Linked DNA regions of Homo sapiens: all the other regions are linked to region 2. Evidence: promoter capture Hi-C in 16 types of primary human blood cells and fetal thymus (Javierre and others, 2016). All regions are on one chromosome and are shown on one strand. Each heading gives the region's core, a stretch centred on a gene start or on the middle of the fragment in contact. The rest is flanking DNA. Distances are from core to core; before and after follow the strand shown.

What was found. Contacts are between HindIII fragments. The CHiCAGO score rates a contact against its expected background, and 5 or more counts as called.
Region 1: a contact is called between a fragment that was not itself captured here and the fragment with the promoter of PHB2 in region 2, in 1 of 17 cell types (activated CD4 T cells). The highest score is 5.5, in activated CD4 T cells.
Region 3: a contact is called between a fragment that was not itself captured here and the fragment with the promoter of PHB2 in region 2, in 2 of 17 cell types (total CD8 T cells and naive CD8 T cells). The highest score is 6.1, in total CD8 T cells.
Region 4: a contact is called between a fragment that was not itself captured here and the fragment with the promoter of PHB2 in region 2, in 5 of 17 cell types (activated CD4 T cells, naive CD4 T cells, naive CD8 T cells and 2 more). The highest score is 7.6, in activated CD4 T cells.

What each region holds. Positions count from the first base shown.
Region 1 is chr12:8,089,153-8,094,646 of GRCh38, forward strand. NECAP1 (NECAP endocytosis associated 1) reads left to right here. Exons shown (of 8, transcript NM_015509.4): 2 at 784-884; 3 at 1,043-1,147; 4 at 2,617-2,698; 5 at 3,524-3,632; 6 at 3,720-3,903. Among named protein-coding and RNA genes, the nearest start is that of NECAP1, 9.6 kb to the left of the region's middle. The HindIII fragment of the contact is 851 bases long and covers 3,199-4,049 here.
Region 2 is chr12:6,967,338-6,972,955 of GRCh38, forward strand. PHB2 (prohibitin 2) reads right to left here and starts at 3,327. Exons shown (of 10, transcript NM_001144831.2): 1 at 3,080-3,327; 2 at 2,859-2,943; 3 at 2,161-2,240; 4 at 1,074-1,258; 5 at 555-684; 6 at 339-442. The coding sequence starts at 3,206. It overlaps EMG1 (EMG1 N1-specific pseudouridine methyltransferase), which reads left to right and starts at 3,576. Exons shown (of 6, transcript NM_006331.8): 1 at 3,576-3,754. The coding sequence starts at 3,587. It also overlaps SCARNA12. RefSeq lists enhancers at 1-226, 3,251-3,853, 3,374-3,443, 3,534-3,713, 3,764-3,883. The HindIII fragment of the contact is 5,065 bases long and covers 1,898-5,618 here.
Region 3 is chr12:8,068,475-8,074,210 of GRCh38, forward strand. No RefSeq gene overlaps it. Among named protein-coding and RNA genes, the nearest start is that of C3AR1, 5.0 kb to the left of the region's middle. The HindIII fragment of the contact is 681 bases long and covers 1,473-2,153 here.
Region 4 is chr12:8,022,826-8,028,320 of GRCh38, forward strand. No RefSeq gene overlaps it. Among named protein-coding and RNA genes, the nearest start is that of FOXJ2, 7.1 kb to the right of the region's middle. RefSeq lists an enhancer at 3,991-4,180. The HindIII fragment of the contact is 3,609 bases long and covers 782-4,390 here.

The sequences.
Region 1 (5,494 bases), core at 2,374-4,873, 1.1 Mb after region 2:
CTGTTGTATCCTAAGCATCTGGAACAGTGATGCATCTGTCCTAATAAGTACTGTATAAATATTGATTGAATTCAGTGAAAGATAGTATATTTACTGATTTGGGAGGGCTCCCATTACCTAGGATATTTAATGTAGTAGACTTTGTTGTTATCTGATTAGTAAAGCATGGTTATCTAGTATACCATCTATAGTTTGAAAATAGCATCGTTATGAGAAATTTTATTTATTTCTTTATTTGAGACCAAGTCTCGTTCTGTCGCCCAGGCTGGAGAGCGGTGGCGCAGTCTCGGCTCACTGCAGCCTCCACCTCCCAGGTTCAGTTGATTCTGCCTCAGCCTCCCAAGGGATTTCAGGCGCACGCCACCATAACCAGCTAATTTTTGTATTTTTAGAAGACGGGGTTTCACCGTGTTGGCCAGACTGGTCTCAAACTCCTGACCTCAAGTGATCCACCCACCTTGGCCTCCCAAAGTGCTGGGATTACAGGCTTGAGCCACCATGCTCGGCCAGAATTTTATTTTTTATTGCTTTTATTCGTGCTTTTCCATCTTTTTAATGATGCTTATTGGACTCCAAAGTCCTCAAGTAGTAGCATTGTCTTTTACTTGCTTTGGACTGTATGTAACATGAGGCATCTAAATAGATCATGAATTATTCTTGTTGATTAATAGGTAGAAAGAATAGGCAATCCAGGATAGGGAAATAGAAATACAGTCAAAGATTGTGGGTGGGCGTTAGTAAATTAAGGACATGTGCCTGAGGCTTCCTCTTTTCCTGTCCTAGGGCCTCTGACTGGAAATTAGACCAGCCTGATTGGACTGGTCGCCTCCGAATCACTTCAAAAGGGAAGACTGCCTATATCAAACTCGAGGATAAAGTTTCAGGTAATCTTTGCGGGTGACCCTCTAACATTAAGAATATTAATTTGGTGTGCTTTTATAAGTACCTTCAATTTGGGGACTGGAATGGAAATACTACTTGTTAATTGGGGTTCTGGATTTTGGCTTGCTTTACTCAAAAAAGTCTTTCTCTTATCTGTCAGGGGAGCTCTTTGCTCAGGCACCAGTAGAACAATATCCTGGTATTGCTGTGGAGACGGTGACAGATTCTAGCCGCTACTTTGTAATCCGGATCCAGGATGGTACTGGTAAGAGAACTGGGATTTTGAGTGGAACGAAGTTAGGAAAACAGGTGAATGCACAGCCATGAAAAGTGTTTCCGATTGCATTTATCTTTCTTTGGTTTACTTCATTTTTTCTTCCCTTTCTCTAAAGTTGCTCTAGTTGCTAAAGGAAAAGTATTAACATGTTATTTGTAATAGATAAGCACGAGTTCAAGATGTGGTAATTCATATGTAGACTTAAATAAATGAAAAACACATATCTAACAAATGAATTAACACATTTGGCACTTTAGGAGGCCGAGGTGGGTGGATCACCTGAGGTCAGGAGTTTGAGGCCAGCCTGACCAATATGATGAAACCCTGTCGCTACTGAAAATAAAAAATTAGCCAGGCGTGGTGGCAGGTGCCTGTAATCCCGGCTACTCGGGTGGCTGAGACAGGAGAATCACTTGAATTGGGGAAGTGGAGGTTGCCGAGATCACGCCATTGCACTCCAGCCTGGGCAACAAGAGCAAAACTCCATCTCAAAAAAAAAAAAAAGAATGAACACTTTTTGCCCGTTTATTGTTCGTGGTAGTTTTTGGTGGGACTATCTTGAATCATCTTACGTGTGGGGCAGTCATTCTTACTCTTTTCTCCATGGTCTATAACAGAGGTTGGCAAACAGACAAATAATAAATGTTTTAGGTTTTGCAGGTCAGGTGGCCTCTGTTGCAACTACTCAGTTTTGCTGTTGTAGTGTGAAATCACTGTAGAAAATATGTAAACACATTGATACCACTATGTTCCATGAAACTTCTTCTACAAAACCAGGCTATGGCAGGATAAAGCCCATGGGCTCTATGTAGTTTATCGACTCTTGGTCTATGAGAAGATATTTCACATTCAGACTTTGTCTAGTTAGGGTGACTGTTATATTTTCATTGGGCAAAATTTGCCATAGAGCAGCAGTCCTCAACCTTTTTGGCACCAGGGACCCGTTTTGTGGAAGACAGTTTTCCACAGACCGGCATTAGGGGATGGTTTCAGGATGATTCAAGTGCATCACATTTATTGTACACTTTATTTCTATTATTATTACATTGTAATGTATAATGAAATAATTATACAACTCACTATAATGTAGAATCAGCGGGAGCCTTGGGCTTGTTTTCCTGCAACTAGACGGGGGTGATGGGAGACAGTGACAGATCATCAGGCATCAGATTCTCATAGGGAGCTCATAACCTAGATCCCTCACATGTGCAGTTCACAGTAGGGTTCACACCCCTCTGAGAATCTAATGCTGCCACTGATCTGACAGGAGGCGGAGCTCAGGTGGTCATGCAAGTGACGGGGAGCGGCTGTAAATACAATGAAGCTTTGCTCTCTCGTGTGCAACTCACCTCCTGCTGCATGGCCTGGTTTCTAACAGGCCACAGACTGGTGCCGGGGGTTGGGGGCTCCTGCCATAGAGGATACTTCCTAGTCGAGTCTTCCTACGTTTTCCACAGGGCGCAGTGCTTTCATTGGCATTGGCTTCACAGATCGGGGAGATGCCTTCGACTTTAATGTCTCCTTGCAGGATCACTTCAAGTGAGTGAAGCTTGTCCTTAGTTACGAGGCTGAATGCTTATAGGAATGCTGCTTCTCACATGAATGGGCAGTATCTCTTTTCCTCCTGGTTTCTTTGTTTCTTAAACTATTTCATTGTGAATATAAATCTCCCCATTCACTTTTGTTTCCTTAGGTCATCTTTGTATCTATTCTGTTTCCTTTCCTTATAGCCTGCAATATATTTCAGATCCCTTGTGCAGTAGTTTGAAATGATGCTCTGTCGAATTTGCCCCGTCTTTTAGGTGGTAGAGGGAGGCCTATGGTAACAGCAGGGCTTTATGTGGGGAGTCGTGTGCCACTCTTGTTACCTTATGTAGCTGACATGTTTTGTGACTTTTGCAACATTTCTTTAGCCCACTTGATTTTGGTGCAGCTGTGGTTGACAGCACTGTGCACACTGTCAGCTTCCTACCTCAAGAGCAAGCATATCTCTCCTTTTCTGCCTTAGGACTCTCTGAAGTTATAGAAAGCTAAGAGCAAGCTTTAACTTGGAAAGACTAAGAAACTAACACCCCCTCAGGAGCAGCCCTCAACTGTGGGGAATGGGAATTGGTGGCTAAATACCATCCTTCTGGAAGGGGCAATTCTAATACGTATTCCGTGAGATTTCTCAGAGAGTCCCCAGTGGAATTGAACCCCAGTTGTTTTCTTTCTTGGCTTTTTTCCCTTCTGTTTCTCACTCTTTTTTATCTCTCACTGTGTTTTCTGGAATCTCATTTCATAAAAGTAAATACACCCAAATTTGTATGTCAGACTCTGCTTTCAGGAAATCTCAAACTAAGATAACTTGCTGTGTTCCCAAAGGTGGGTAAAGCAGGAATCTGAGATTTCCAAGGAATCTCAAGAAATGGATGCTCGTCCTAAGTTGGATCTGGGCTTCAAGGAAGGACAAACCATCAAGTTGTGTATCGGGGTGAGTATGGTTTTTAAAAATTTTGTTTTCCTGTGCTTCCATAAGCCTATGACATCTTTCTCTTGCTCTTCTTTTTTTCTTTTGTAGAACATTACAAACAAGAAAGGAGGTGCTTCTAAGCCCAGGACTGCAAGGGGTGGGGGTCTGAGCTTACTCCCACCCCCGCCAGGAGGCAAAGTCACTATTCCCCCACCATCCTCCTCAGTTGCCATCAGCAATCATGTCACCCCACCACCCATTCCGAAATCTAACCATGGAGGCAGTGATGCAGGTAAATCTAGTACTTCTAATTTTGAGAAATCCAATCTTATGTTTTAATTAAGCAACACCTGTTTGTCAAGGAGAGTTAATGTTTTTGCTATGAAATAGCTCATGGTACTGACAAGGTGATTCTGTCAGCTTCTAGCAAGGAATCAAAGCTTTTCTAGTGAACTAAGAGTCATAGTATCTCATAGGTTCTTTGGCAGAAAATATTTGCTTATTAAAATGACAATTTCCTTCATTTTTTTCTTGGTTAGATGCTTATAAGCTTTTGAGTCAGATGGACCAAGATTTTGGTCATGGCTCTGCTACTTTATATTTGAATGTGCTTGGTAAACATTACTTAAGTTTTTTGAGTTTCAATTGCCTTATCTACAAACTGGAGATGTAAAACCACCCCAGCGGGGACCTTGGCTCATGCCTGTAATCCCAGCACTTTGGGAGGCTGAGGTGGGTGGATTGCTTAAGCTTAGGAGTTTGAGATCAGCCTGGGCAACATGATGAAATCCCATCTCTACAAAAAAAATACAAACATTAGTTGGACGTGGTGGTGCACGCCTGTAGACCCAGCTATTTGGGAGGCTGAGGTGGGAGGATGGCTTGAGTCTGGGAGGCTGCAGTGAACCATGATTGTGCCACTGTACTCCAGTGTGGGTGACAGAGTGGGACCTTGTCTCATAAAAAAACAAAGAAACAAACAAAAATAAATAAATAAATAAATAGATAAAATAAAATAATTACCACCCCAAGGTCATGAGGGTTAAATGATTGACAGCACCTAGCATAGCACTTGGAACATAGTAGGCATTTAGTAAATGTTATTAAACTTTCCCATTTCTTCACAAGAGCAATTGGGAGAAAAGAAGATATCTAGGTTTGTCCATACACTTTCATTCTTTCTTTCTGTTTGGTGGGAGAAAGAATAAATATGGTTATATCTTCTCATTTGAAAAATGAGAGCATTGGAACTGAGAAAAGAATTTTTCTGAGATTAGAGAACTGTGTCTTAGAATCTGAGAATTTTAACTTAATGTATTGGACAGTGCAGATAATTTGTTGAATTGATTACTAAGGGTAAGCTTTCTCTTTCTGGAATTTTTGAGGTGAAAATATTATAGCCTGCTTCTTTTGGTAAGTGTTGCCAGAAGCCACTGGGGATAGTATCTAAGATTTTTTTTAAATTAAATTATTATTTTGAGATAATCGTAGATTAACATGCAGTTGTAAGAAATAATATGAAGAGATCCTGTTTACCCTTTTCCCAGTTTCCCTCAATTGGTAATATTTTGTGGAACTATTGTCAAGTATCACAAATGAAAAATTGATGTTGATACCACTTTCTCATCTTACTCAGCTTACACCATTTTACATGTTCTCATCTGTGTATATTTGTGTGGATCTGTATATTTAGTTCTATGCAGGATTTTTTGTTATTTTTTGAGATAGGGTCTCACACTGTTGCCCAGGCTAGAGTACAGTGGTGCAGTCATAGCTCACTGCAGCCTCAAACTCCTGGGCTCAAGAGATCCTTCTGCGTCAGCCTCCCAAACATCTGGGACTACAGGTGCACACTGCCACACCAAGCTAATTTTTTAATTTTT
Region 2 (5,618 bases), core at 2,077-4,576:
GTCAGATCCAAGGTTGCGCTCAGGTGGCTTGTGCCCAGCCCTACCGTGGACCCCACCTGTGGGCCTCCCTGCAGGCTGCTGCCAGGAACTAGGGGCAGCACCAGAAATGAAGGCAAGGCCACCAATGCTATTGATCTGGCCTTACAGTGGGGAGTCATGGCTCAGGTACTACCACTAAGATTTCAGATCTCATCTGTAGTCCCCACCCCCAACAAGGAGCCAAGGGCCAGAGAGCACGGAGTCGCATTCGCCTTAGTCTCATCAGCCTGCCCATGAAGGAGAATGGGGAACTCAGGTGCCCTAGGGGCTGGGCTGAGATCTCTCCAGCAGAAGGATATCATCTTGGCAGCCTCGGCCTCACCCTCGGCCTGCACAATTTTCTGCCGCTGTTCCTGCTTTGCTTTTTCTACCAAGAATTGGGCCCGCTGGGCCTCCTGCTGGGCTGTGGTGGGAGAGAGTCAGGGAGACCCTGTCCTGGGTCAGGAGCCCCACCCATGGAGTCTTTCCTCCTCCTGCATCTCAGAAGCCCTCACCCCACGGCTCTTGCGACTCACCCACTTGTTTGGCTTCTACAGCAGCTGTGTACTCTCGGCTAAAGCTCAGCTCTGTGATGGCCACATCATCCAGGATGAGGCTGAAGTCCTTGGCCCTCTCTGTCAGCTCCCGGCGGATCAACAGGGATACCTGAGGGCAGGGGTGAAGAGGGGAAGGGAGGGGTGGTTTGAGGGGACTGGGGAGCTGAAAGGAAGGTTGCGACCCCTAACCCTTCACTCTCAATACAACATGCACTGCCTTAGCTTCCTGTCAGGCAAACCTGTAACATAAGCCTCTCTGCTCGAAGAGGTGCAGGAAAAGCCAAGACTTGGCCATTTTCCTCTGTGCTTCCTAACACCGAGTGCTATCGAGTTCTAATGCTGGCTCTCCTTATTTCACAGTGGCAATTAGCACAGCTTTTAGGTGGAAATGGCACTAGGGTGACAATGCTTTTCTAATAAGCTGCCTTTCCTAATTCCCAATACTCTGGGCCTAGGAAGGAAAGGCTGACACCACGCAGATGGTGGTGGGAGTCAGACCTGGGCCCGCTGGGTGATCAGCTGTGAGGCATTGAACTTGGCCACCACACTCTTGAGCACCTCGTTGACAATGGACGGCAACACTCGTTCCTCGTAGTCCAGCCCTAGGCGCTGGTACATGCTAGGAAGCTCCTGAGCATTGGGTCGAGACAACACTCGCAGGGAGATATTCACCATCTGTAGGTCTGAGATTGAGGTCAGCAGTGGCTGGTCAAGGCCAAACACCCTTTCCCAAGCATTTTCTCCTTCATGTTCCTCCCTGTATGCCCTGTGCAATGGTGTACAGCCTGGCACTACCCTGGGGGGAGGAGAGTTAATCAGGCTGACAAGGAAGACAAGACGCAGCACAGCTGAAATGCACCCTCACCCACTGTGAAGCCTTGAACTGCAAACCCCGTCACCAGCAGAGCTGACTACTCTTTCCCCCTCTGTACTCTGTGCAACCTCTAACGTGGGCGCTTTCGTGCTGTACCGTAATCATGTCTCCTGTAAGGACTTGGGGGACAAGAATTGTGTTTAATGAATCTTTTATTCCCAGGGCCCAGTCTAGTAAATGAATAAGCGACCTGCACTAGGTATAGCACAAAGAAGTACATTACAGGTTACAGGTGAGCTACCTGACCCAGGGTGTATATGTGTGCGTGGGTGGGGAGGAGGAAGAGGTCTGGGGAACTCAAAGGCACGGCTTTTATGTATGGTCTAGAAGGAGAGAACAGGTGAACTAGTCAAGCTTAGGGACAAACTTCTCCAGAACAGAGTGTACTAGTGGATGTAACTGTAGATATAGTAAGTCAAGCAGTTAGAAAAAAAAGGCTTTAAAACAAAGCTTTGATCTAGGCAGTGAACAAGACGAGGGACAAACAATACTCTTATTGAATACACGTCAGGGAGGAGACAGTAAAAAGCACGCAAACACAGTGTGTTCAGAATTTGCTGCTTTGACCCCAGGAGGCAGGTATTTTTGTTACAGCTCTTGCAGATGTGGAAAGAGGCCTAAAGGCCTGACACTACCATATTCCCCTGGGGTTTCTTGCCAGCTACCTTGATCATCCCACCTGCCATGTGATTACCAAGTGCTCAGACCTACCTTTGGAGCCTGTAGGGGAGGAGATTTTTCGAGGTCTGGCCCGAATGTCATAGATAATGGGGTACTGGAACCAAGGGATCCTGGAGAGGACAGGGATAGGTATTAAGAGGCCACAGTTTCGGCCGGGCGCGGTGGCTCACGCCTGTAATCCCAGCACTTTGGGAGGCCGAGGCGGGCGGATCATTTGAGGTCAGGAGTTCGAGACCAGCTTGATCTACATAGTGAAACCCCGTCTCTACTAAAATACAAAAATTAGCCGGGCGTGGTGGCGGGCGCCTGTAATCCCAGCTACTCGTGAGGCTGAGGCAGGAGAATCGCTTGAAATCAGGAGGCGGAGGTTGCAGTGAGCCGAGATCGCGCCACTGCACTCCAGCCTGGGCGACAGAGCAAGACTCCCTCTCCAAAAAAAAAAAAAGAAAAGGCCGCAGTTTCACTAGCCTTGCCCGGTTTCCCCTCACCACGCGTTTTTTGGCCTGCTCCTCTCCACGACCACAGACAAGGAGAGATTCTCTTGTCCCTCTGGAAAACAACAGTTTGTATGCTGCTGGAGGTTCTCGCAGCACCCACTATCCTAGGGGCAGGGATGAGGAGGGTGGGAAAAGAGCAGCGTTGAATCCTGTTGCACGTCCGACTATAGCCACTGCTGGGTCGGCGTCAAGGGTGAAAGGTCAGGGTCAGCAGGCTCTGCCCGCCATTACCTGAAGTGAAGGCCCTCGGCCAGGATAGTGTCCTGCTGCACTCCACCGATCCGATTGAAGAAGATGGCTCTGTGCCCGCCTTCCACTGTGGGGAGATGGGTGGTGATCAGGCCAGGCCGCTGCTCAGAGGAAATGCTAGGCCCGTGGAGGGGCGCGGGGACAGGGCAAGGGGTTTGGGGGAGGGACTGGAAGCGTCCGGCGAGCAGGCGGAGGTTGCTCACCGGTGAACACAGATTCGCGCACACCGTAGGCCACGGCGCCGGCCCCCAGCAACAGCTTCAGGGCCGTGCCCATGCCCCGGGGCCCGGCGGGCAGCCGTCCCGCCAAGTCCTTCAAGTTCTGGGCCATGTCTGATCTTGAGGCCGGCGGCACTGGAGGTCAGAAGGGGGTGCCGGCCCGCCTCTACCCCGCTCCGGCTTAGGTACTGCACCCTTCACACGAGGGTTCGGGCCCGTAAGGCTGGCGAAAGAAAGGGCAGCGGAAGTGCGCTCCCTTTGAAACCCTCCCCCTTAGCCCACTACGGACCCGAACTTCGCGCACAGGAATCGCGCATACGGAAGTCCCGCCCCTTTCTGGAAGGCTGCCCTCCCAGGGAGGGCAGCGCAAGACAGCAAGTCATCTCCATTTCCTGGCCCACTTTCAAAATGGCAGCCGGAAGGAAATTTGTGATTAGAAGCCGCGCTGTTCTTATTTAAGAGCGTTAGCGCAACTTCCGGTATTGTTGCAAGATGGCCGCGCCCAGTGATGGATTCAAGCCTCGTGAACGAAGCGGTGGGGAGCAGGCACAGGACTGGGATGCTCTGCCACCCAAGCGGCCCCGACTAGGGGCAGGAAACAAGATCGGAGGCCGTAGGCTTATTGTGGTGCTGGAAGGGGCCAGTCTGGAGACAGTCAAGGTAGTTTGGGACAGGAAGTGGAGAAGTAGTAAATCGATAGGTTGGGACTCCGTGGAATGAGGGTAAGGGGCCCAGAGTGGATGTAGAAAGCAGAGAGGGGTGAAAGATGCTTTTGAAGGAAGGTGGCTTGGTTGGCTTTGCGTTGATTTGACATCCTGGGATGGTAGTACTCATTTTTCTTTCTTTTTTTTTTTTTTTTTGAGACGGAGTCTCGCTCTGTCGCCCAGGCTGGAGTGCAGTTGCGCGACCTCGGCTCACTGCAACTTCTGCCTCCCGCCTTCAAACAGTTCTCCTGACTCAGCCTCTGGAGTAGCTGGGACTACAGGCAGGTGCCACCACGCCCGGCTAATTTTTTTGTATTTTTAGTTCAGATGGGGTTTCACCATGTTGGCCACGCTGGTCTCGAACTCCTGACCTCAAGTGATCCGCCCGCCTCGGCCTCCCAAAGTGTTGGGATTAGAGGCGTGAGCCACTGTGCCCGGCCGGTAGTACTCATTTTCTTTTGCTCTTTTTGAATGATATTCTAGCCCTCACCTCCTTGCTTCCAATTGGTTTACCAGGATTCTGTGGTATAGTAGTCTAAGCAGAGGAAAGTTTCGTTCCTTGCGTCATTCCACATCCCAAGACAAGTTACTGGGCAGATGAGAAACGTAGTTATGTAGCCTAGTCTGCCCACACTTTTTGTAAGGGCTTCGTGTTTCAATTCATTAGTATCCATAGTCACCTCTCTCTAATATCCACCTATGATACACTGTCCAGACCTGGTTATTATTTAAAACTTTTACATCTGCATTTTTATCTATCATTCATCTCTTTCCCCACATGTAATAGAACCAGCAGTTCTCTATCTTAAAGCCTTGGGCAGTGTTCTTCCTCCTCCTTTCTCTTACCCGTTAGAACTAATTGAATAGGCCCAGAAGAAATCGCATTGGTTTAGAAGTCAGGCCAGGATTTTAATCTTCGTTCTAAATACACTTTTTTTTTTTTTTTTTTTTGAGATGGAGTCTCAGTCTCTACCAGGCTGGAGTGCAGTGGCACGATCTTGGCTCACTGCAGCCTCCGCCTCCCGGGTTCAATCGATTCTCCTGCCTCAGCCTCCAGAGTAGCTGGGATTACAGGCCTGCGCCTGTAATCTATTAAAAGAATAGAAAACATGATTATATCCTACTAATGGGTTGAAACTGTATTATTCATTCAAGAAGGTTTTTTTCTTCTATAACTAAGGGTGTCTCATGGACTTAGTTCTTGGTCATTTGTTCTTTGTGCTCTCTGTGACATTACTTCAACTATTCAATTTCAAAATCTACATCCCTTTTTTCGCAGACTTTTTGGAGCCATATATCTCAAGAATGTTGCTAGACATATACATTCCAGTGATACATAAAAACTTAACCTTCCAAAACTTGTATTTGTATATAACAGTTTGTTTTTAGACTTTTTACTGACCACCCTAATGCTCCTTGGGACTCCAAATTGCAACTTGGAATTATTTCTTTTAGCTGCTACAGATGTAGTCCACTTCTTTAACATCAAACTTCTGATGTCTTTTCCAGTGTACAGAGAGTTGTTAGGATAGTGTCTGTCAGTCATTCCCATCCTGCCCTGCTTACTCCAGAATTATTTTTGGCTTTGTGCTTGATACATTAGGATTCTGTGGTTTACAAAGCAGCTTCATATATAATCACTGCCCTTTAGTGTCTCAGCTCCCAATTTTCCTCAAAATTTCCTTTCTTCGTTTCCACTTTTTCTTTTTTGTTTCTTTTTTGAGATAGGGTCTTGCTCTGTTGCCTGGGCAACAGAGTGCAGTGGTGTGATGGTTCACTGCAGCCTCTACTTCCCTGGCTCAAGCAGTCCTCCCACCTCA
Region 3 (5,736 bases), core at 563-3,062, 1.1 Mb after region 2:
TGGTGCGATCTCGGCTCACTGCAACTTCTGCCTCCTGGCTTCAATCGATTCTCCTGCCTCAGCCTCCCAAGTAGCTGGGATTACAGGTGCCCACAACCACACCTGGCTAATTTTTTGTATTTTTAGTAGAGACGGGGTTTCACCATGCTGGCCAGGCTGGTCTCGAACTCCTGCTCTCAGGTGATCTGCCCACCTCGGCCTCCCAAAGTCCTGGGATTACAGGCGTGAGCCACTGCGTGCGGTCCCAAATTATACTTTTTAAGTTGCTCCATATTATTCCACTTACTTAATTATTTTTCGTGGAATATTGTTTTTATCCAATTTTAAATGATTATAAACAAAACTCAATGAGCACTATAGTATTTACATGTATTTCTGTAGAATAGAGTTTTAGAATTGGAATTGCTAAGTCTAAGAGCACACACTTTTACATTTTGAAAGATACAGAATTTTCCACTAAAGAGACTTCACAAATTGTCACACTAAGTTCAGTACCATAAACATATACTCTGCTTCTGCTCCTGCTCCTGATACAGTGTGTTGCACTGCGGAAGATGGAGGAGGAATGAGAGATGTATATAACTGTAATACAGTAGGGGCTGTTAGGAGGGCACAATACACCCTGGGAATATGAAACCGTAAGAGACTAATTCTCATGGAAGCAAACCCACGATGATGCACTGAAGAGGTAGCATTGGGGCCATAAGGATGGGTAGAAATTTGTCAGGCAATAGTACTGTAAAATAATACCTTGTCTCTCTCTCTCCCCTACCATGAATTTCTTGTCTGTCTCCAGTGGCTGCTACCTTGCCTGGTATAACAGGTCTGTGGCACCAATAAGTGAATGAATGTTTGTTTGAAAAGGATGTTGACATCTGAATATAATTCAAATAATTAACTTGAGTCCTTAGAGTTGTTTCTGGCATGAATTCACTTTTACTAATTTCTCTCTCTCTAAAGATTACACAGCAATGTGGCTGGGTGTGGTGGCTCATGCCTGTAATCCCAGCACTTTGGGAGGCCAGGGCGGGCGGATCACCTGAGGTTAGGAGTTCGAGACCAGCCTGGCCAACGTGATGAAACCCTATCTCTACTAAAAATATAAAAATTTAGCTGGATGTTATACAGCAATTTAAACTGGTTCAAGAGCTCCCAGCTGTGTTCTTTGGATTTTTCAGGAAGAAAATTACTAAAAACTTGTTGTGAATAGTGCTCCTGTTTCTGGATGACCTCTCTCTCTTCTTAAAAAGTACTGGTTGTTTTGTGGTGTATTGTGGAAAGCTCTGAGGAAGTTATGTGATTCACTTCTGTTTTGTTCTATTCTGAATATCTAAATATAAATTTCTAAAAGCAGAGATCAGATGCTTTGGAAAAAAGAAAATTTGAATGTATGTTGCAAAGGCAGCCATATTAAAACCTTTTACCAGTCACTTGACTAATTCTACACTGTAATTGATGGAGATCTGTATTAAAGCTTGTTTGGCCAAAATAAAAATGTTAGAATCACAGATCTCTAGCTTGTTTTCTCTGAGAGAGTTAAATACATTATAAAGTTACTGTCCTTAAAGACTTCAACAAAAAATGATTAAATCCGTTATTAGATAATTTGTAGTAACCTATGCTCTAAATTAAATATAACTAAGTGCCAAAAACTGTGGATGACACAGACAAATGCAATGGCTGGTCAGCAAAGGGTAAGATTGATTGATGGTGGCTAGAATTAGCTGGAAAATTTTTATGGAAGAAAAGATTCATGAGGTGAATAGAGCACTAGACCAGGAATGTGGAGACATACATTTGACTTTCAGTTTTGTAATAACTACTCGACCTTGGGCTAGATACTTGACCTAGAAATTTGTTGTTGTTTTCTTAGGTGGAAAATTAAAGGTTGGATTAAATGGTCTTTCAGGTTTCTTTTACATCTAACAATCTATAATTCTCTCATTTGAGCAGGGAGATTGAAGCTGAGAGGGCATTTCAAGGGAAAAGCATGAGCACATATTAAGGGGGAGGTGAGCCCAACACAACTAAATGGCACAGGTACATGGCGTTGGTGGGAGTAAAAAGGGTATTCTAAGGACTAAGGGAGGGCAGGTAGAAAGCCTGGGTTTAAGTCTCAACTTTGCCACTTACTAATTGTGTTACTGAAAATAAGCTTCTCACACTGTATGTTCTCGTTTTCTTATCTGCAAAACAGGGACTGTGTCAGATATCATCTATCGATACTCAAGCCGCCCACACCCTTCCTTATTATCTATTAGAAACCTATGGACTATGTCTCCTCTACCTTCTCTCCAGCTGGGTTCTGAATAGGATCTTCCGGAAGGACATGTTCATGTGTCAATGGAAAGTAAGGAGAAAGGGGAACTATTGCTTTTAATTTCATAACTTGGTTGTGCACAGAGATTGCAAATCTATTTTAAAAGTAAAAGAGGCTGGGCGCGGTGGCTCATGCCTGTGTCCCAGCACTTTGGGAGGCCGAGGCGGGCGCATCATGAGGTCAGGAGATCGAGACCATCCTGGCTAACACAGTAAAACCCCGTCTCTACTAAAAATACATAAAGAAATTCGCCAGGCGTGGTGGTGGGCGCCTGTAGTCCCAGCTACTCTGGAGGCTAAGGCAGGAGAATGGCGTGAACCCGGCAGGCGGAGCTTGCAGTGAGCCGAGATCGCGCCACTGCACTCCAGCCTGGGTGACAGACCGATACTCCGTCTCAAAAAAATAAAAATAAAAAAATTTTAAAAAAAGTAAAAGAAAGCGGTCACTCACGCCTGTAACCCCAGCATTTTGGGAGGCCAAGGCAGGCAGATTGCCTGAGCCCAGGAGTTCAAGACCAGCCTGGGTAATATGGCAAAACCCCCCTCTACTAAAAATACAAAAAATCAGCTGGGCATGGTGGTGCACACCTGTAGACCCAGCTACTTGGGAGGCTGAGGCGGGAGGATGGCTTGAGCCTGGGAGGTTGAGGCTGTAGGGAGCTATGATAGTGCCACTGTACTCCAGCTCAGGCAACAAAGAACCTGTCTCAAAAAATAAATAAAAATAAAAATAAATAAAAGAACAAAGACTATGAAATAGAATAAACATTAAAATTGTTAAAGGAAAAGCAATATGGGAGAAAGGGATATCATTTAGCACCTGATTTCTGCAATGGAGGGGGCAGGTGTGGCAGCAGTGGCTGCTGGCTGCTGGAGGCTCCAGCAGGATTAATGGTTCCAGCAGCAAGCAGCAGCAGCAGCAGCAGGCCTGTGAGTTTAGATTCTTGTTAAGTGGCAGCAAGAACTCCCATCCTTAAAAGCAAGTGCATGCTTGCCTATTCTAGGTAATATCCTTTTCCATTTTTTCTCTTCCAATTGTAGGAAAGCATCCTCCTGCAGTAATTGATACACAGCTAATATCATCTTTTCACTTTTTATTCCTCTACTTCTTTTGACACTTCTGTAGCCAAGTCTTGTTTTTCTTTTTCTTTTCTTTTCTTTTTTTCTTTTGAGACAGGGTCTTGCTCTGTTGCCCAGGCTGGAGTGCAGTGGCTTGATTGTAGCTCACTGCAGCCTTGAACTCCTGGGCTCAAGTGATCCTCCTGCCTCAGCCTCCCGAGTGGCTGGGACTACAGGCATGCACCACCACATCCAGCTATTTTTAAATGTTGTTTTGCAGAGATGGGGTCTTACTATGTTGCTCAGACTGGTCTTGAACTCCTGGCCTCAACTCCCAAAATGCTATGATTACAGGCGTGAACCACGATGGCTGGCCCAAGTTCTTGTCTCATATATCCCTTTTGAAGTACCTACAATGGTTTTAGATTTCCTGGCTGGAAAATGACTAATTCAGGGAATATTCTCTACCTACTCTATAGTATTGTCAGGAGTAGATTAACAGACACACAAAGCTCTTAAAACAGTACCAGCATATACGGAACTTAACAAATATTAGCCATTATTATGTCAAAAAACTAATGTGAATTACAGTTGCTTATTAGATCAAAATTATTTTCCATCTTAGACAAGTGGCAAATAATTTACAAAATGTTCCCTTCCCAGTGTGAAATCATACCCTTTTTGTCAAGTCAAATTCTAACCTATGGCCCTCAAAGATGTAGATTAGATGTACTCTTTCCCCGCTAGAGTATAACTGCCTAATTATCCACATAGTTATGGTAAAGCCAAGTAGGAACACAAATTGAAGAACAAAGTTGCCCAGAAATTAAAAATAATTCAGTTAAAAAGTAAATAAAATAAAAAACTGTTAACTCTACCATAATAACAAGTATCTATGCCTGGATCTTGAAAGAAATCAGCCAAATTTGGCATGATAACTCAGACAAATCTTAGTGATTTAAAGAAAATCTAACAAACTTTGCTTATTCTATCGATTTATTGGTTTTTGACTTTCTATTATAGAGTGTATCTAGAATAGCCAGGTAGGAGAGGCTGAAGTGGAAGTAAACTGAATGTAGGTACATGTTTCATTAACACCCTTTGTGACTTTAGTTCTATAAAGGCAAAAGTGAACAAGGAGATAAGGGAGGAGACCACCCCTCATATTGTCTTATGCCCGATTTCTGCCTCCAAAGAAAGAAGAAGTAAAAACTAAAAGGCAGAAATGGAATCCACAAGCAGACAGCCTGGTGCCACACCCTGGGCCTGGTAGTTAAAGATCGACCACTGACCTAATTGGTTATGTTATTTATAGATTACAGACATTGTATAGAAAAGCACTGTGAAAATCCCTGTCCTGTTCTGTTCTGATCTAATGACAGTGCATGCAGCCCCTAGACACGTAACCCCTGCTTGCTCAATCGATCACGACCCTCTCAGGCGGACCCCCTTAGAGTTGTGAGCCCTTAAAAAGGACAGGAATTGCTCACTCAGGGAGCTCGGTTGTTGGAGACGTGAGTCTTGCTGAAGCTCCCAGCCGAATAAAGCCCTTCCTTCCCTTCTTTAACTCGGCGTCTGAGGGGTTTTGTCTGCGGCTTGTCCTGCTACAGAGACAAGTCTTCTGTGTATGTCCAACTGATCTAATGAGAAGTCATAGAAGCTTTTTTTTTGGAGGGGAGACAGAATAGAGGACTACTGAGGGGTAGATGGCTCTCGTCAATGTAGGTCAAGATATATTTTTGATACAAAAATTAGCCGGGCATGGTGGTGCAAGCCTGTAGTTCCAGCTACTAGGGAGGCTGAGGCAGGAGGATTGTTTGAACTTGGGAGGCAGAGGTTGCACTGAGCTGAGATCGTGCCACCGCACTCCAGCCTGGATGACAGAGGAGACTCCGTCTCAAAAAAAAAAAAAAAAAACAACAAAGAAGAAAATGTGTTCTCCATTTCTTTTCTCCTTTGCTCTTTCTTCTCCATTTCATTCCCACTAAAATGCAGGCAAAAGAAGGTGAAGACACATAAACATTTCAGATAAAATGCTCCTTCTAAATCTCTTCAAATCATACTACACTGGGCAGATTTGTTAGCCATTAGGAGAAAAGGTGTTTTTTTTGTTTTTTTTTTTTTTGAGATGGAGTCTCGCTCTGTCGCCAGGCTGGAGTGCAGTGGCATGATCTTGGCTCACTGCAATCTCTGCCTCCCGGGTTCAAGCGATTCCCCTGCCTCAGCCTCCCGAGTAGCTGGGACTACAGGCATGCACCACCACACCTGGCTAATTTTTAGTATTCTTTTAGTAGAGACAGGGTTTCACCGTGTTGGCCAGGATGGCGTCGATCTTCTGACCCTGTGATCCACCTGCCT
Region 4 (5,495 bases), core at 1,336-3,835, 1.1 Mb after region 2:
GTGACCCATGTTCTATTTCCTTTATATACCTTCCTCTGCAGAGACTGGAAAACCAAAAACTATACTTTCCAGATTTTTTCGCAACTAGGATTCTAGTTGTAAATTGTGGATCTATCAATAATTTGCACACATAAGAAACTTGAAAAGTGGAAGCCAGGCTGGGGTCAGCTGCTGGCCGCTTTGGCTGTTGCTGCTGGTCAGCAGAGTCATGGGAATGCTGGGTTTTTCTGCAGCAGTGTTCCAATGTCTATTCACTAGTTCCACGGCTGTTTTTTTTTGTTTGTTTTTGTTTTTGAGAAGGAGTCTCGCTTTGTCACCCAGGCTGGAGTGTGGAGTGCAGTGACACGATCTCAGCTCACTGTAACCTCTGCCTCCCAGGTTCAAGCGATTCTCCTGCCTCAGCCTCCCAAGTAGCTGGGATTACAGGTGCCCGCCACCACACCCGGCTAATTTTTGTATTTTTAGTGGAGATGGGGTTTTACCATGTTGGCCAGGCTGGTCTCGAACTCCTGACCTCAGGTGATCCACCTGCCTCGGCCTCCCAAAGTGCTGGGATTACAGGTGTGAGCCACTGTGCCCGGCGTTTCATGGCTGTTGAAAGGTGCTGAGGCTGTGTTAGCAACAGTAGCTGCCCAATTCCTTGATCACAACTAGGGCAGTAAGTTCTCCTTTTTTTCTTTATTTTTAATTTTTTTTCTTTCCATACTCATGTCAGTACAGGGGCATGTGTTCCTGAACTCAACAGCTGCAGCAATACAGTCTTGATTTCTCATCTTTCTAAAGCTTTCCTGGTGGGTGAATTTAGCAGCCTCATTCTTGGAGCCATTTCTGATATACAGCAGAAACCCCCTTTCTCCAGTACTTCCAACGATTTTGTAAGCACATTAAGCCCCAGTATTAAAGCCTTTCCTACTTAAGTGGTTTCTAGTTACTGCAGCCAGCCCTGACAGATCTAATACCTGATTGAGCAGTAGCCCACTGCCCTTTTCTTCTTTTTCTTCTTTCCATAAATGCCAAAGGCAATGCAACCCAGTGCTTTCATCCCTGGTCTTTTGAGGCCTGGTGTTTGTTTCTTGGGCTTCCAGGGATGAAAGAAACTCATGATTACTATTGTTTAAGAAGGGCAGGCAGCCAGGCTTCAGGAGGAATCATGAATTGAGGATTTTTCTAAGGCCTCAGGTTCTATGTAACTCAGTATGTCATGTTCTTACCAATCAAGGTACCACCCCTTTACAAATTGGAGGGCTTAGATCTATGGTTAGGACAATACCAGTTCTTTCCTTCTTCAGACTTGGTGTTGGGCTCTAGGTTCCCCTTGCTAAAAAAAATTTCTGCTTTTGCTTATTGCCCATCATCAGGGGGAAAGTGACAGTGCTGTAAGTGTATGAATTATTAGCCTAAAAATAATTTTTTGTATGTTTTTCATGATTTATTTAATATCACTAGGAACAAAGGGCACTTTTCCCTCAAACACAATTCTTGAAAATATTAACATCTCCCCTCTCTTTTGGCATAGGTAATATACACTTTATTATGCCAGAATTATTTACAGCCCAGTAATAATTTTTCCATGGCATTTTTGTTATTGCAAATATAGCTGCCTCCTGCTCCTTTCCTTGTTCCTAAACTATCGCCACAATGATACTAAAGAGCCAGTATTGTATATACTCTTTTGTAAACCACCTGACCTAGAAGACCCTAGAGAATCGTAAGATAGGATCTCTTTTGATAAGCAGAAAATACCGTTGCAGAATCTTGACCAATAGCCCCCGCAGAGTCTTGTGGTAGGGATAGTTATAATATGAAAGGGAAATTCTTGTCCTCAAGTTTAGAGCAGTTTTTAGACAATGTTAAAGCATCGCTGAGCTCTAAGTATAAGAAAAACTCTGGACTAGGCTGGGTGCAGGGGTTCATGCCTGTTATCCCAGCACTTTGGGAGGCCGAGGAGGGTGGATCACGAGGTCAAGAGATCGAGACTATCCTGGCCAACATGGTGAACACCCGCCTCTACTAAAGATACAAAAAAATTAGTTGGGTGTGGTGGCATACCTGTAGTCCCAGCTACTTGGGAGGCTGAGGCAGGAGAATCGCTTGAAGCCAGGAGGCAGAGGTTGCAGTGAGCCAAGATCACGCCACTGCACTCCAGACAGAGCAAGACTCTGTCTTAAAAAAAAAAGGAAAGAAAAACTCCGGACTAGAAAAAAAGTGTACATCATGCTAAGGAAGCAAATGATTCCATAACTAACATAGTATAGATGATACCTCTCAAGCTCTCAAATAATTTCTTCCTAGTCTCTTGCCTCAGATTGTAGGATAAACACTTTATGTTCCATTCACTGAATGTAGAGGACATCTTTTCACTAATCCCACCTATCTTTTCAATTTTTCCAGGAAGGTAGGTTGAGGGGAAATCTGCTTTCAAATTTTAAAGGCCTCAAGGTGTTAGGAGGAAAACAGCATTTTCTCATGGAAGTAGCATCTCAGGTAGGTTTGTGAAGTAGCATCTCAGGTAGGTTTGTGAAGCAGATCTACTTCAAGTCTCGCATTTTTAGGATTTTTCCAGCATTATTTTTTTATTTATGAGACGGAGTCTCGCTGTGTTGCCCAGGCTGGAATGCAGTGGCAACATCTCGGCTCACCGCAACCTCGCCTCCCTAGTTTAAGCGATTTCCGGCTAATTTTTGCATTTTTTAGCAGAGACTGGGTTTCACCATGTTGGACAGGCTGGTCTCGAAATCCTGACCTCAGGTGATCCGCCCGCCTTGGCCTCTCAAAGTGCTAGGATTACAGGCGTGAGCCACCGTGCCCAGCAGTGTACTTTATAAAAGTCTTCTCCCTCTGGTTTGGTTCACATCATCAGTTGACTACCTACTATGTATCCGACACTGCCGGGCACCAGAGATAAGATGTAGTTCTCAGCAAGGCGCGGTGGCTCACGCCTGTAATCCCAACATTTTGGAAGGCTGCGGTGGGCGGATCATTTGAGGTCAGAAGTTCGAGACCAGCCTGGCCAACATGGTGAAACCCCGTCTCTACTAAAAATACAAAAAACATTAGCTGGGCGTGGTGGCGGGCGCCTGTAGTCCCAGCTACTCGGGAGTCTGAGGCAGGAGAATCGTTTGAATCCCGGAGAGTGCAGTGAGCCGAAATCACGCTTCAGCCTGGGTGATGGACCGAGACCCTGTCTAAAGAAAAAAAATGAATAAAAAAAATAAAAAAAGATGTAGTTCTCTAACGAGGAAGGCTTCTGTATGTGATTAATGCCCTTCATTCAGAGAAATCTTTACAGTTCTTTTCACCTGCATCTACTCTCTCCAACTATTATACGAATGGTTTCTAACCCAACTGCTTGAATACTGTGATCCAGGGTCAGTCTTCAGCTTTCTAATATTAGAGAAACTTAGTTTTCCCTGTCCTTGTCTAAAGGCAGGGTGAAACCCTTTTCCTTTCCTCCGTGTCATTCATTCTCTTATGTAACGTAAACAAATGGGAAGTCTGGGACCAAAGGCTCATAAGAATTTAATTATCATGCAGATTCCAGAAAGCCAGTGTACACGCAGACTTCGGAGGCAGTAAACAGGAAACCATCGATCCCGTGCAGGAAATGACCTTGTTTGAAGGCAACGAAGGTGTCGCGGATTTCCCTCGTTTTCCTTCAGTTCCTTTCTAAACTCATTTCCGTGTTTCAATCAGTTTGGTCCTTCTCTACATTAACAGAGTCCCCCCGGCCCAGAGAGAATGGCAAACAGACCCTTCCCTTTAGTGGACATTTTTATGTCTTGTTTTACATCACTGCAAATCTCAGCCAATCAGTAGTTGGGGTAGGAGGTACCAAAATAATCCTCACTTCCTCCCCCAAATACCACCCCTCGCGTGCGTCATCCTGTGATAGATTACCAACGCAGCCAATCAACAAGCGATCTTGGGCCGGGCCTACCCGAACCCCAGCCAATTAAGAGGAAGATGAAGAATTGGGGCGGAGGATGGAAAACTTGCCACCTCTTTTGGAAATGATTTGAAGAGGTGCGTCCGGAACGAGGGAAACTTACGACTTTTGCTAACGATCGCGGCGTGCTGTGTATCTCCTGTGCCAGTTCTGTCTCCCCAAGACCCCACCCCAAGATGGGCCCCATGGCCCACGTACCCGGCCCCCAGTTTCAGTAGGACGTGTCCTTATCCCTGAGGTCCTCCAGAAAGGAACCCAACCCCAATGGCCCGTGCTTCACACGCTCCTCCCCGCGCCGGTGGAGTAGGGGGCAGGAGAGACCTGCTGCCTCTGGCGCCAACCTTTCCATTCAGTGCGTCTTTCCTGCCTAGCCCACGTTCCCGGGCCGGAGCTGACACGGGGGTGGGAGGAGCCGAGTGCTTGCTCGTCTTGGGCAGAGGCGAAAGCTTCTTAAGGTGGAACAGGAATGTTGGGCTGCTGGGCCTCTACCGCTGGGATGTGCCGGCCCCTGCTTCCCAACCTCGCCTCCCAGTTTTTCATCTCTTGTTCCCTGGCTCCAGTCTAATTTTTAGGGGAGTGGAAATCAAACAGGCTGGGAAGAGGATAGAAAAATAACGTAGAAAAGCTGGGCGCGGTGGCTCACGCCTGTAATCCCAGCACTTTGGGAGGCCAAGACGGGCGGATCACGAGGTCAGGAGATCGAGACCACCCTGGCTAACACGGTGAAAACCCGTCTCTACTAAAAATACAAAAAATTAGCCGGGCGTGGTGGCAGGCGCCTGTAGTCCCAGCTACTCGGGAGGCTGAGGCAGGAGAATGGCGTGAACCCGGGAGGCGGAGCTTGCAGTGAGTCGAGATCGTGCCACCGCACTCCAGCCTGGGCGACAAGAGCGAAAACTCCGTCTCAAAAAAAAAAAAAAAAAAAAAAGGAAAGTTAACGTAGAAAACTGTAAATAATAAACAGTTATGTAAAGGAAATACAAACTATACAGATAACTTCACCTTTATGATTTAATATCTTGCGTTCTATTCCCCCCATTACTTTTTATTTTTTCAATTCCCATAGAGTCAATGGTGACCCCATTATCTTTTAAAGTAGCAGTTAGAATTTTTCTGATGGTGCAAATGTAAGCTCATATTTTGTCTGATAAATATTACTAAATGAATCGTTTCTATGTTGGTTTAGTTTCTCTCTAATAGACCTGACTAGAGTCATTAAAAGAGGTCAGAACTCTGTGTCTAGTGGCGGCAGGCTACCCCCTACTCCGTTGATCACAGGTCCCCAGGAATCTGGAAGAGTGGAGATGCGGTCTTGGCTGTGGTTCAGTTGTCTCATTTGTAAATGGGAATAACATTTCCCCACCTCGTAGGTTTAGTGTCAATCCTAAAAGACCTAGTGTAAATGAAAACATTGTAATCTGAAAGGTGTAAACAGACATTAGGTAGTATTACACATACAAAGCATATAATAATAGTAAACATAGTCCTAGCTATGTTCCAGCATTTTTAAACAGTACTTTAAATTTAATTTTTATTTTTTGAGATGGAG